5 separate regions of the Homo sapiens genome follow, and regions 2, 3, 4 and 5 are each linked to region 1. Evidence: promoter capture Hi-C in human tissues and cell types (Jung and others, 2019). All regions are on one chromosome and are shown on one strand. The core of a region is centred on a gene start or on the middle of the fragment in contact, and the rest is flanking DNA. Distances in the headings are between cores, read along the strand shown. Region 1 holds the start of KDM4B (lysine demethylase 4B). Region 2 has its middle 18 kb from the start of TINCR. Region 3 holds the start of HSD11B1L (hydroxysteroid 11-beta dehydrogenase 1 like). Region 4 overlaps SAFB2 (scaffold attachment factor B2). Region 5 overlaps CHAF1A (chromatin assembly factor 1 subunit A).

Region 1 (2,700 bases), core at 106-2,605:
ACAGTGCAGGCACCCGGTGGGACCCAAAGGAACTTGCTGAATACACGCCCCAGCCAGAAACACATGGAAAAAGACGCTCTTCACATATGACAGGATCACTAGGCTCCACGGAGCTGAACCACCTTCTCACTAGTTTCACAACTCGGGGAACACTTCCTCACAGGGTGCTGGTAAATTATTAAAACAGAAGCATCCTCCCCCAAGCAAACAGATGGGATGCACCCAAAAGCAGTCCATGCCTCCACTGCCCCCAGGGGCGGAAAACATGCCCCTTAAAACCTTCCACCGTGCCCAGGTGGACAGAGTCCCCCGTCCTGCCTGATTGTCATGGCCACCACTGAGCGCAGACCTGGGCCCTGGCAGACCCCAGGTCAAGCAGATTTCAGAGCGAGTCCGTCCCCAGCTCCCAGGGGGATGTCCACGGGGGACACAGAAAAGGGGTCTCGGCGGAAGCAACTCCTCAATTCATTTCTCTAGAGCAGGGGCTTCGTTCGAGATGGCGATCAGGCTGGAAGGGGGAGGGACGGAGAGACTCGTGGAGGCTGCCGTTGCATAGCAAGATGATTTTTTTCTAAAATCCAGATTGCATATGCTTATGGCGGGGTGGGGGTTTCGGGTACGTACAGGGGGGCAAGTTTGGAAGCTACCAAGGCATAGCAGGTTGACCGGAGGTGGGGGCAGTGCAGGAGCAATGATAGGCATTTAGGGGGCATCCCTGGGTGTCCAGCTGGGGGGCTTCCCCTTAGCCCCCCTGGCGCCCAAAGGGCCAGAAACGCAGGCGGGGGTTACCCAGGGGCTGGGGTCTTTTTCCTTTTTCTTGCTTTCTTTCAAAAATAATAATAATAATAGGCCGAGGCTTGTCCCGGGTGATAAAAGGGCCCGGCCGGGGCCACCCACGCTGTCATCTTTTGTGCGGGGCGCCGGGGCCGTCTGTGCCCAGCCCCCGCGCGCCCCCGGCCCGGGAAGGGGCCCCCGCTCCCGCCCCTGGGCGCGCCCCGCCATTGTCCGGCCCCGCCGCCCCCGCCCGAAAACCAGCGGGCGCCCCCGGGCCGGGCGGTTAACGCCCCAACCGCCCCGCCGGCCCGGACAAAGCGCGAGGCCCGGCCCGAGCAGGCCGCGCCCGAGGCCTGGGCCTCGAGTCCCGGGCGCGCCCGCAGCCCCGAGCCGCGACGCGGGGGCGGCCATGGCGGCGGGGTCCGCGCTCGGACACGGCCGGGCGGCCTCCCCGTGGGCTCACCTGAGGCGGCGTGCGCGGCCCGGTCCGGGAGCAGCGGCGCGCTCTCCCCCGCCCTCGGCGTCGCACCCCCAGGCCCCGCTCGGGCCGGGCCCCGCTCGGTTGCTGGCGACCGAGCCCTCCGCAAGCGCTCGCGGGGGGGCTTATAAGGCCGCGCGCCAGCTCCGCCCCGACTGCCATTGGCTGCCGGATCCACGCCCGAGCGCCCATTGGCCGGAGCTGACAGCTCCGCCCCTCCCCTCCGCCGGGCCCATCAACACCGCACGGCCCGCCCACCGCGCGCCGCGATTGGGCGGGGACAAACGCCGGCCTCGCCTCTTCATTGGCAGACCGGCGGGGACACGCCGGCGCCCACCCACGTGCCCGCTGACCGGCTCTGTTCTCATTGGAGGGGGCGCACGCCAGCCAAGGCTGCCGCGACCAACCCGACGGCAGCTGGGCCTTGGATTGACAAGGGAGCCTCAGGGCCCGCCCGACGACCGCACAGAGAGGAGCCAGTATTGGCTTGAGGGGCCAGCCCGAGGCGCGGACAGGCTGGGGCAGGTGCCAATCACTGCCCGCAAGCTCCGGGCCCCGCCCTGGTTATCAGGCGGCGGCTGAGTACGTGAGACCCAGCACAGCATCAGCACCGGCCGGGAACGTGCAGGCTGGAGGTTCGAAACCCGTGGCCGGAATGTGGGCTTAGCGTTCCCCAATTTGCAAAGTGCCAAGCAAGGAGACATAGCGATCCGTTTTGCAAAGGAGGAGAACCGAGAACATAGGGTAAAGCAGCAAGAGCCTCCACCCCGCCACCGTAGGTCTATTCCCATCACAATCAACAAACCTTTGCCAAGGGGCAAGGCCTTCGGAATAGTTAGGGTCCCTCTCCCCGAGTTCCCTAAAATGTATGGGAGAGAATGAGCTTTGGTGCTTTCTGACCTGGATTCAAAGCTAAGCCGGGCCCCATGCCTCACTGTGGTTGACCTCCAGCAAAGTAACCTCGCTGAGTCTGTTTCCAACTGTGCAATGGATATGATGGTAGTGGCCACACCCCGTCTACCCGCCTCTTGAGAATGTTGCAAGGATTAAGTGGGATGAGGCACGGAGAAAGATTTGACCCTGTGACTTCACAAAATGAGCATTCATTGTGTACTGGACCACGCAGGGGTGTGAGGCATGCCCCCATTTGGAGTGGCAGGAGTGTAAATTGGGCAATTTGACATTTTCTAATAACATTCTAAGTGCATCCACCACCCGATAACCCAGCCAGCAGTTCTTCCTGGAGGTGATGTACCCAGAAAAAAGGTCTGGAGCTTACACAATTCAAGAATGCCGGCGGCAGGGCTGTCTGCAACTGTTTCCAATGTTTTGCACTAACTATCCATCAGTGGGGGATTAGAGAAGTAACTTAATAGCAATCAGTACTCTGGAATACTTACTATGTAGCAATTGAAAAGGAGGCCAGGCCCGGTGCTGTGGCTCGGGCG
Region 2 (2,700 bases), core at 63-2,562, 580 kb before region 1:
AGGTGGGGATAACTAAAAAAGAGTGCATAAAAGAGTGTTGTCTAAGTTGGCACCAGAGTGGGGGAGTTTTCAGGGGTTTTGAAGCCTGGCCGTCAATACCCACAACAGTTATGGAGGCAAGGGAAACAGGCCCTTGAAAAGAAGATAATGTGGAGTGGGTAGCCTCCGTATTGATTAAGAAGGGGACGGACTTACCTTCCACTGTGAGAGTTACCCGAAGCTCGGCGTCCGTGATGGTCTACGGGGCTTCCGAGGCGATCGGGCAGCGTCAGTCTTCAGCCGCTAAGCCGAGAAGATCTGGGAAGGAGTCAGTCAGAGAGCCTTGGGCCAGAGTTCCAGGGGCTCTGGGAGTGGCTGCCAGGTGAGTTGAACAGTCCGATTTTCAGTGGGGTCCCACACAGATGGGACGCGGCTTAGGAGGAATCCCGGGCAGCGGGCATTCCTTGGCCCAGTGGCCAGATTTCCGGCACGTGTAGCAAGCTCCTGGGGGAGGAGGTTCTGGAGGAACGCCTGGCCGCTGCGGTTCAGGCATTTGGAAGTTCTTGTGTGCTGGAGATGTGGCTGGGGTTTGTCTCACAGTGGAGGCAAGGAATTGCAACTTTTTTCTATTATTGTACACCTTGAAGGCGAGGTTCATTAAGTCCTGTTGTGGGGTTTGAGGGCCGGAATTTAATTTTTGGAGTTTTATTTAATGTCGGGAGCAGATTGGGTAATAAAATATATTTTGAGAATAAGACGGCCTTTTGACTTTTTAGGGTCTAGGGCTGTAAAGTGTCTCAGGGTTACTGCCAAACAAGTCATGAACTGGGCTGGGTTTTTATATTTGATGAAAAAGAGCCTAAACGCTTCTGATTTGGGATAAAGAAAAAGGAGCATTAACCTCGACTATGCCTTTGGCTCCAGCCACCTTTTTAAGAGTAAATTGCTGGGCAGGAGGGGGAGGGCTAGTCACGGAACGAAACTGTAAGCCGGACCAGGTGTGAGGAGGGGAGGCGATAAAAAAATGACAGGATGCAGGAGCAGAGGCTGAGGAAGAATTGGGACTTAGCTTGGGCTGGCGAGGAGGGGAGAGGTCAGATGGGTCTGTAGAAAAGGAAGATGAGAAAGACTCAGCGACGCTTGGGGTTGGGACTGAGGGGACAGGTGGGAGGGAAAGAAGGAAGATTTGGGACGAGTTGCACTGGGCACAGAGAGTAGGAAGGGACTGATGGACTTCAGGCACCTCAGACCATTTGCCCATTTTACGACAAGAATTATTTAGATCTTGTAGGATGGAAAAATTGAAAGTGCCGTTTTCCGGCTATTTGGAACTACTGTCGAGCTTGTATTGGAGTCAAGCGGCATTGCAGAAGAAAATAAGGCATTTAGGTTTTAGGTCAGGTGTGAGTTGAAGAGGTTTTAAGTTTTTGAGAACACAGGCTAAAGGAGAAGGAGGAGGAATGGAAGGTGGAAGCTTACCCATAGTGAAGGAGGCAAGCCCAGAAAAAAGAGTAGAGACACGGAGAAGGGGTGGGGGGTTCTCGCCCTCCAGAAAAGCAGAGAAGGGGTTGGGGCACGGAAGTAAGGGATTGGGGCACAAAGAGGTCAGGGTGTGGAAATAAGGGATTGGGGTGCAGAGATATAAGAGGTTGGGGTGCGGAAATAAGCGATTGGGGGTTTCTTGCCCCCTAGGAAAGCGGGACTTGCCACTGAGGGTGAAGGAGAAGGGGTTGAGGGGTACTTGCCCCTGCCCCAGGAAAGCGGGACTTGCCACTAAGGGTGAAGGACCAAGGCGGGCGTCCCTGCGTGGTCTGACACCCTTGAAACGTGAGTGTATAATCAGAGAGGCGTCCCTGCAATGATTAAACACCAAGGGAAGGCTGCCTTCCCAGTCCGTGACCGGCGCCGGAGTTTTGGGTTCACGGATAAAACATGTCTCTTTTGTCTCTACCAGAAAATGAAAGGAATTGAAATTAAGAGAAGGGAGAGATTGAAATGTGGCGCCAAGATTGAAAGGAGAAAGAGGTTGAGGGATAGTGAGGGAGGTTGGAGAAGAGAGTAAAAAGAGGCCGCTTACCGGATTTGAAATTGGTGGGATGTTTCCTGGGCTGGTTGGACTGAGGACCTGAGGTGGTAGGTGGATCTTTCTCACGGAGCAAAGAGCAGGAGGACAGGGGATTGACCTCCCAAGGGAGGTCCCCCGATCCGAGTCACGGCACCAAATTTCATGCGCGTCTGTGTGAAGAGACCACCAAACAGGCTTTGTGTGAGAAGCATGGCTGTTTATTTCACCTGGGTGCAGGCCGGCTGAGTCCGAAAAGAGAGTCAGCGAAGGGAGATACGGGTGGGGCCGTTTTATAGGATTTGGGAAGGTAATGGAAAATTACAGTCAAAGGGGGTTGCTCTCTGGTGGGCAGGGGTGGATCTCACAAAGTACATTCTCAAGGGTGGGGAGAATTACAAAGAACCTTCTTAAGGGTGGGGGAGACTACAAAGTACATTGATCAGTTAGGGTGGGGCAGGAACAAATCACAATGGTGGAATGTCATCAGTTAAGGCTGTTTTTACTTCTTTTGTGGATCTTCAGTTACTTCAGGCCATCTGGATGTATACGTGCCAGTCACAGGGGATGCGATGGCCTGGCCTGGGCTCAGAGGCCTGACAGTAGGTATCTAATAAATGCTGTAGCTCACGCCTTTAATCCCAGTAATTTGGGAGGCC
Region 3 (2,700 bases), core at 82-2,581, 710 kb before region 1:
CCTTTGGCCTCCCTTCCATCTCCGATTTGGTCTCCCCCACCTCCACACTGGCTTCCCCATGTCCATACTCATTCTCTCCCTGCCTCTTCTGTCAATGCAGCCAAAGGCGTCTGTGTCAAAAGCAACATGGCCATGGCCCTTCCTGCTCCAAACCCTCTCAGGGGTCCCCACTGCAACTGATGGAAACCAGGCTCCTCACTGCACCCCATGAGGCCCTGCAGGTATAGCCCCTGACTACCTGTCTATCCTTCTCTCCCACGGCCCCATCTATGAATCGTTCAGTTCTCAAAATAATGAACTCCTCACCTTTCCCAGACACACCAGGCATGCCCACAGCAAGAAACGAGCTTCCACCTTTTCCCCTTCCAGGGACAGCCCATGAAGCTCCTCTGCTCATCCCTCTTTCCACCCCCAGCTCTACACTGACTGCAGCAGCCCGGCAGGGGGAAGTGGGACCAGATGGACTGACGGGTGGACGGATGGGTGGATGGATGAATGGATAGATGGACAGATGCATGTATGGATGCATAGATAGAAGGATGGATGGGTGGATGGCCAGATGAATAGATGGATGGGTGGATGGATGGATGATGGACGGAGAGATGTATGGGTGGATAGATGGATGAGTGGATGGATGTATGAATGGATAAATGGGAACACATAAATGGATGGATGGATGGATGGATGGATGGACGGACGGATGCATGGATGGATGGATGGATGGATGGATGGATGGACGGATAGATGAGTGGGTGGCCAGATAAATAGATGGATGGGTGGACAGATGGATGAGTGGAAGGATGGGGGGAGCAGATGGATGAATGGATGGGCGGACAGATGGATGAACGGAAGTGTGGATGGATAGATGGAAGGATAGATGGGTGGATGGCCAGATGGATAGACGGGTGGGGGACAGATGGATGGATGGGCAGATGAACGGTTGAAGCAGCCCGGCCGAAATGCGGGAGAAATGGGGGGAAGCCCTGCAGAACGCATCGGCCCCTTCTTGACCTCGGCGGGCCTTAGCTTCCCCTCTGAACAAAGCGGGCGTGTGACCCTCTGCGCACCCCTAAACCGTGCACTCACCCGCTCAGGCCTCAGTTTCCCCCACTGTCCAGCGGGGGTGGGGTCCCGGGCTGGGAGCCACGCGAACGCCCCCACGGTCCTCTCTTCTCGGCCGCCTCCTGCCGGGTCCCCGACCGCACCCCCTCCCGTAGGGCACGGGTCACGTGACTCGAAGCCCACCTCCTCCCGGGGAGGGGCCGGGCCTCGGGGACCCAGCGCCGGAGCGTCGCCGGGCAACAGTGCCCGCCTGGTCTTCGCCTCCCAGCAGGGGCCCGGCCCCGCCCACTGGGCGGACGCCCCGCCTCCGAATCGATCACGTGAGGGGGCCGCAGCGCTCGAACAATCCCGCCCTCTCGTTGCCGTGACAACCGCCTTGTAGGCACACTCTTCTTAAATCCGGGCCCTTGGTCCCCCGCGCGGGCGCGGGTGGATCTCTCGGGCTCTGACTTGTTTTCGGGTCACCTTCAGGCTTCAGCCAGGCACCTGACGCCTCTTTCCCCTCACGGTGCCAGGGCCGGGCCGAACTACATTTCCCAGGAGGCTCCGCGGCCAGGTGCAAACAGCGCCGTGCTGACTACATTTCCCAGACAGCCTTGCGGCGGCCCGGGCCTTAAAGCGTCCATTTCCCAGCGGCCCTCCGCTGCGAGACCGCAGCCCTTCTCTGGAGTCTCAGAGCCGCAAGACACCACGACTCCCAGAGGACCTTGCGTCGGGCAAGAAAGACTACACCTTCCAGAGGCCTCTGCGGCGCCGCGACAGGAAGCGGCGGGCGAGCCGAGTGTCCTTGCGCGTGGATCCGAGCGACCATGGTGGCCCGGGTGTGGTCGCTGATGAGGTGCGTGGGGGCGCCGGAGGGGACCCGAGTCCCCGAAAAAGTCCATTTTTGTGGGCATCCCTGTCTCCAGTCTGGTCCCGATCTGCTCTTCGCTTCCCTTAGAGTCACTTCCCCTTCGTTCCCCGCCTATGGGCCAGATAGGGAAACTGAGGCTTCAGAGGGGCGGGGCTTCCCGAGGTCGCCAATCCCCTCCCTCCTGCTTCCCAGCGAGCCCTTGGCGTTCAGTTCGCGGTGTCAGCCTCCGCCTCCGAGCCTCAGTTGTCTTCTCTGTGAGGTGGGAATGCCGGTGAATCCTGCCGCTGGCGTGGATGAGAAGTGAATGCGTGCTCGGAGCTGCGAGTGACAGCGGGCAGGAGGCGCCCAGGGACACTTGGTTTCTCCAGGGCTGGAAGGCTTCTAGAAGGTCAAGATCTTACGTCTTCACTGCCCCTGCTCACTGTGGGACTTTGAGTGACCCACTCTCCCCCTCTGGGTTTCAGTTCATCAGTTCAAGTGGCGTCCAGCCGCCCTGCCTTGCACGTTGTAAAACGAGTGCTGTATATAATAGGGGTCTGGGTCGACGGTGCTGCACTACAGAGTGTCACCCTGTGGACGGTGAGCCCTCAGGAGGGTCTCACTCTCCCCGTGGGCCTTGGCCCCTGAGGGTGGCTGTCAGTGTCCGCTGAGCTTCTGCTCCTCCCGTCCCTGCCCGCAGGTTCCTCATCAAGGGAAGTGTGGCTGGGGGCGCCGTCTACCTGGTGTACGACCAGGAGCTGCTGGGGCCCAGCGACAAGAGCCAGGCAGCCCTACAGAAGGCTGGG
Region 4 (2,700 bases), core at 1-2,500, 630 kb before region 1:
AGAGGTGACAAATAGTGAAAATGATTCTGATTGCCAGGTAATAACTTTAGCAAGTTGTGTGGTCATTTGTATGAGAGAGTAAGAGTGCCCTTTTTCATGAAGGTTGTCGGGGCCAAAGTGGTAACGAACGCCCGCAGCCCGGGGGCTCGATGCTATGGATTCGTCACCATGTCGACATCTGACGAGGCGACCAAGTGCATCAGCCATCTCCACAGAACTGAGCTGCATGGACGAATGATCTCCGTAGAGAAGGTGAGGCAGTTCTCGTCTATGGTAACTCGCAAATGGAGTTTGCAAGTGAGAAGCTCTGGGCCACACATCATTTCTGTCTATTATATTTTAGGCCAAAAATGAGCCTGCTGGGAAAAAGCTTTCCGACAGAAAAGAGTGCGAAGTGAAGAAGGAAAAATTATCGAGTGTCGACAGACATCATTCTGTGGAGATCAAAATTGAAAAGTAAAGTGAATTTTCAAACCTCCTCTTGGAATCCCTGGGAGGAGGGCACGGGCAGCCACCATGGGCCTTGAAAAACACGCATCTGTCCCCACCTGTACCCACGCAGCCTTGCCAGCTTCCTGCTGGAGTCTCAGCTGATTTTTGTGTTCTGCTGCCACTTTAATATTCAGCTTTTATTTATTTATTTTTTGGAGACAGGGACTCACTCTGTTGCCTAGGCTGGAGTGCAGTGGCACTGCAGCCTCCACCTTCCGGGTTCAAGTGATTCTCCTACTTCAGCCTCCCAAGTAACTGGGACTACTGCAGGCGTACACCACCCAGCCAGGCTACTTTTTATAGAGACGCGGTTTCGCCATGTTACCAAGGCTGGTCTCAAACTCCTGAGTTCACATGATTTGCCCGCCTTGGCCTCTCAAAGTGCTAGGATTACAGGTGTGAGCCACCACGCCCTGCCAGTCTTCAGCTTTCTGTGTAAAGCTATTTAACGAAGTAGCCCATGTCTTTAAGAAGTGGATACAGTTGATCCTCAGCATGTATTTGTTTCCTGATAACTGATTAGCCTTTTGAAAAAACAGTATACACAAAATGTCATTTTCCATATTCTGGTCCCTTGTACAGCCTCTCAGACCTTGGAATCATTTCCTCATCCACGTTGATTTTCATGCAGTTCTCACTTATTAATCACAGCAACTGTCATACACCCAGTTTTTCAAAGATAAAGCATCATCCAAAGGAATTTAGCCTGGTCTAGTGTTGCAGTGAATGACCTTGAGTGAGCAGTTGGTGCTGTGTCTGACAGATGGCAAAAGCATTGCTGTGTTTACCTCAAAATTAAAAATATTCCAAGGCACCCTGTGAGTTCACAGTGCCACCCTGTGAGTTCTCACGGTGGCACCCTGTGAGTTCACGGTGGCACCCTGTGAGTTCACGGTGGCACCTTGGGGTACCTTGGCGTACCTTGGCGTAGTAGTTGGGAACCATGGGTCTGAGGTTCTATTTTTATAAAGGGGTGATTTATATCTTTAATCAAAATGGAGGTAGGGACAGATCTTTCAAGGGAGGTGTGGGTTGTTTATATTTTTAACACAATTGTAGGCTTCTCTTTTGAGAAGGTAGATTTCCGTGTTGTATCTGATCATGGCAGTGTCTCAGAAGGCTGAGTGTCTGCCTTAAGTTTACGTTGTCAACGCAGTTTAGAGGGTAAACATGTCTGTGGACATAGTTGAACTGGGTTTTTGAAGATGTAATTACCAATTTACATCATGGCCAAATTGGAATTATTATTTTTAATTGGAATTATTATTTTTAAAAAACATTTTACTTTTTGAGACGGGTCACCCAGGCTGGAGTGCATTGATGCAGTCATGGCTCATTACAGCCTCGACTTCCCAAGCCCAAGTGAACCTCCCACCTCAGCCTCCCTAGTAGCTGGGGCTACAGGTGTGGGCTACCACTCCCAGGTAATTTTTAAATTTTTGATAGAGACAGGGTCTTGCTCTTTTGCTCAGGTTGGTTTCCACCCTGGCCTCAAGCAATTTTCCCACCTTGGCCCCACAAAAGACTGGGATTATAGGTGTGAGCCACTGCACCTGGCCCCAGATTGAAATCAGTAGGCCCCTGAGTAATGAGTGTCAGATGAGCCTTCATGAACTTGGAGGAGGGGGGTGGGGGGGGCGGTGAGCCCTCTAATTTAATCAGCAACTTCAAAAAGACACATCCCATCAGCATTGCTAAGAAAAAAATGTCTGTATTGGTGGAAGATGGGGAACTGTTGTTGCAGGTTTGCGGTGTTCTTGGTATCTTGCGTGTTTCATTAATTGTTTTTCTGTATTTGTGGGAAAGGCGGTAATAATTAGCTAACAGTATGGTGTGGTCCTGTGGCCAGCACTGGGAATGCAGCAGTTTCCTTGGTCCTTGTAGTAGCCCTGTGAGGCACTTGCTCTATGTAGGAGAGGATACAGGCCTAGAGAGGGGAGCGCGCCCTGCCTGAGTTTGCTGGGAAACGGCAAGGCTGGGATTCAACCTATGAAGTTTGCTCGGAGCCCCATGGCTCTTAACTGGGTGATGGACTTAAGATTTTTTTTTTTTTTTTTTTTTTTTTTTGAGACAGAGTCTCGCTCTGTCACCCAGGCTGGAGTGCAGTGGCGCAATCTTGGCTCACTGCAAGCTCCGCCTCCCGGGTTCACGCCATTCTCCTGCCTCAGCCTCCCGAGTAGCTGGGACTATAGGCGCCTACCACCACGC
Region 5 (2,700 bases), core at 104-2,603, 550 kb after region 1:
AGGAGAAGGAGGTTGCAGTGAGCCGAGATTGCGCCACCATACTCCTGCCTGGGCAACAGGGTGAGACTCTGTCTTAAAAAAAAAAAAAAAAAAAAAGCGACAGCTGGCCTGGGCGACAGGGAGAGGATGGATTTGTAGCAAAGGAGAGAGGACCTGCCTGTCCAAAGGAGATGGAGTTCTTACAGGAATATAGATCCCTATTTGCTGGTCCTTCCAATTTCTCCAAGAGAAGCTGATATTAGGAATTTCATATGAATTTTTTTAGGTGTTTAAAAATGGACACAGACGGGCACAGTGGCTCATGCCTGTAATCCCAGCACTTTGGGAGGTCAAGGCGGGAGGATCACTTGAGCCCAGGAGTTCAAGACCAGCCTGGGCAATAAAGCAAGACCCTGTCTCTAAAAAAAGCTTTTAGTTAGTCGGGTGTTGTGGTGCACATCTGTAGTCCTAGCTACCCAGGAGTCTGGGGTGGGAGGAGCCCGGGAGGTTGAGGCTGCACTGAGCTGTCCAACCTGGGTGACAGAGTGAGACTGTCTAAAAAAAAAATAAAAAGATACTAAATTAATCAAATAAAACATGTCTCCAGGCTGGTTTCCTGTGCACCACTAATTTACATTCTGTCTAGCTCAACTCTGCTTTTTATTTTAATGTTATTTTTGAGATGGAGTCTTACTCCTGTCACAGAGGCTGGAGTGCAGCGAGTGCCACGATCTCGGCTCACTGCAACCTCTACCTCCCAAGTTCAAGCGATTCTCCTGCCTCAGCTTCTTGAGTAGCTGGGATTATAGGCGTGTGCCACCACACCTGGCTAATTTTTGTATTTTTAGTGGAGATAGGGGTTTCATCATGTTGGCCAGGCTGGTCTCGAACTCCTGACCTCAGGTGATCCACCCGCCTCGCCTCCCAAAGTGCTAGGAATTCAGGCGTGAGCCACCGCGCCCAGCCAACTCTGCTTTTTAGAATGTGGAGTGAAAGCTTAAGACAAAAGGGAAACTTGCTGGGGTTTTCTAGGACTTCTACCTTCTAGGGCACAATATTTTCTATCACCTACCTTCAAACTGAGCATGAGCTACTAGGAATTACCAATAGGATCCATGGTGTGACTCACCATCCACCTAAATGGTCCCAGGAAGGAAGACGAACAGGGAGTCTGGACTTTGGCCTAAGCTATCTCCCACCGGGGCAGGGAATCCTGAAAACCAAACTAGTAGAAGTGAAGAGCAATGGGAAGAGACGCTTAAGAGTGGGAAGAAATAGTTCTCCGGGTTCATTGCAGACTTGCAGTGTAAGACTGAAGTTGACTGAAAAACCAAAGGCCCATTTTCCTGGCAATGGTCTGAGGGGTCAACAAAATTATGTAAGTGATTTCTTTTTTTTTTTGAGACGGAGTCTCGCTCTGTCGCCCAGGCTGGAGTGCAGTGGCGCCATCTCGGATCACTGCAAGCTCCGCCTCCCGGGTTCAAGCGATTCTCCTGCCTCAGTCTGCCCAGTAGCTGGGACTATAGGTGCCCACCACCATGCCTGGGTAATTTTTTTGTATTTTTAGTAGAGATGGGGTTTCACCATGTTAGCCAGGATGGTCTCGATCTCCTGACCTCGTGATCCGCCCGCCTCGGCCTCCCAAAGTGCTGGGATTAAAGGCGTGAGCCACCGCGCCCGGCCAACAGTGATTTCTTTATCTGGGAAAGCTGAACCCCTGACTAGGACCTCTCACAGAATAAAAGCTTCAGATGAATGAGCTCAAGACAGCCTTTCCACCTGGGTCCCACTGAGTCCTTTCTGGACTAAACCTTTCTTTAGGGAAAGGCCGAGCCGTTGTGAGAAGGCTGCCCGTGTTGGCAGGAGCTCTTTCACCACCGAGATCAGGCCAGGGTGTTCAGTCTTTGCTGAGAATGTGGCAACAGAAATGCCAGCCCGAGGCAGCCTCACCAAATGCTGCAGAAAAAGCATCTGTCTCTCCAGCATCTACTCTGCCTGCCAAGGCTGTGTGCCTCTCCCCCACGCTGAGGGATTTAACTGCAGAATATGGGAGCCGCAGCTCTCCGGGGCTGCCCTTTGTGTTCAGAGATTATAATACGGAATGTGGTCTTGGGGTGGCGGGGAATTCAGTTCCTTAGTCTTGCCCATGCCTGAAGCTCAGCTGCAGAATCTCCTGCCTCTTACAATGCCCCCCCTCTGCTGTGAGTCCAGAGATAACAGACTTGATGTGACTGGCAAGAGCCCGCTCAGTAATATCCAACAACCAAAACAGAGCAATTACTGCTTAATTTAAAACTGGTATCTTTTTTGCTTTGCCAAACCCTCAGATGGACCTTGAAGTCTGACAGAACTTTATCTTCTTGAAATTTGACCCAAGTGTTTATAGATCTCACTCTCAAAATTCTATGCAACACTCCCACATTCTACCCAGCTGGAGCCCGGTCAGACAGCACCCTCAACTGCCAAAAACGTGATCCAGGATCCCAGAAGGAAGCCAAAACACAAAAACCGACAATCCCAAGGAGTCGCGACAGAGCTCACTATGTGTGGGCATGAAAATTCCTGCACCCTTTCTCAGATAATCCTCTCAGAGCCTATGGACTCTGATTTTATACTAAAGGGTATCTAATTTCTAAGCCCAGACCAGATAAGCCGCTAAAACCTGACAGCAGGGGAGCGGAGGCAGGGGGGAAAAGAGAAAACCTCCAATTGGCCCAAGCA

What was found. The method cuts DNA at HindIII sites, captures the fragments that hold promoters and counts their contacts. A contact is called where the count stands out against the background at its distance.
Region 2: a fragment that was not itself captured here is called in contact with the fragment with the promoter of KDM4B in region 1 in 1 of the 25 tissues and cell types used here (dorsolateral prefrontal cortex).
Region 3: the fragment with the promoter of HSD11B1L here is called in contact with the fragment with the promoter of KDM4B in region 1 in 1 of the 25 tissues and cell types used here (dorsolateral prefrontal cortex).
Region 4: a contact is called between a fragment that was not itself captured here and the fragment with the promoter of KDM4B in region 1, in 1 of the 25 tissues and cell types used here (dorsolateral prefrontal cortex).
Region 5: a contact is called between a fragment that was not itself captured here and the fragment with the promoter of KDM4B in region 1, in 1 of the 25 tissues and cell types used here (dorsolateral prefrontal cortex).

The regions. Positions count from the first base shown.
Region 1 is chr19:4,967,768-4,970,467 of GRCh38, reverse strand. It overlaps KDM4B (lysine demethylase 4B), which reads right to left and starts at 1,355. Exons shown (of 23, transcript NM_015015.3): 1 at 1,238-1,355. RefSeq lists silencers at 1,182-1,481, 1,792-1,891. The HindIII fragment of the contact is 14,440 bases long and covers 1-2,700 here.
Region 2 is chr19:5,548,519-5,551,218 of GRCh38, reverse strand. No RefSeq gene overlaps it. Among named protein-coding and RNA genes, the nearest start is that of TINCR, 18 kb to the left of the region's middle. The HindIII fragment of the contact is 3,354 bases long and covers 1-2,700 here.
Region 3 is chr19:5,679,658-5,682,357 of GRCh38, reverse strand. HSD11B1L (hydroxysteroid 11-beta dehydrogenase 1 like) reads right to left here and starts at 1,331. Exons shown (of 8, transcript NM_198706.3): 1 at 1,087-1,331. MICOS13 (mitochondrial contact site and cristae organizing system subunit 13) reads left to right here and starts at 1,842. Exons shown (of 4, transcript NM_205767.3): 1 at 1,842-1,900; 2 at 2,595-2,700. The coding sequence starts at 1,872. RefSeq lists a silencer at 1,154-1,363 and enhancers at 1,414-1,883, 1,894-1,993, 2,014-2,093, 2,124-2,233, 2,614-2,700. The HindIII fragment of the contact is 40,206 bases long and covers 1-2,700 here.
Region 4 is chr19:5,602,339-5,605,038 of GRCh38, reverse strand. SAFB2 (scaffold attachment factor B2) reads left to right here. Exons shown (of 21, transcript NM_014649.3): 10 at 103-252; 11 at 344-456. Among named protein-coding and RNA genes, the nearest start is that of SAFB2, 19 kb to the left of the region's middle. The HindIII fragment of the contact is 4,913 bases long and covers 1-2,700 here.
Region 5 is chr19:4,414,854-4,417,553 of GRCh38, reverse strand. The region is part of intron 3 of CHAF1A (chromatin assembly factor 1 subunit A); the gene reads right to left. Among named protein-coding and RNA genes, the nearest start is that of CHAF1A, 14 kb to the right of the region's middle. The HindIII fragment of the contact is 3,051 bases long and covers 1-2,700 here.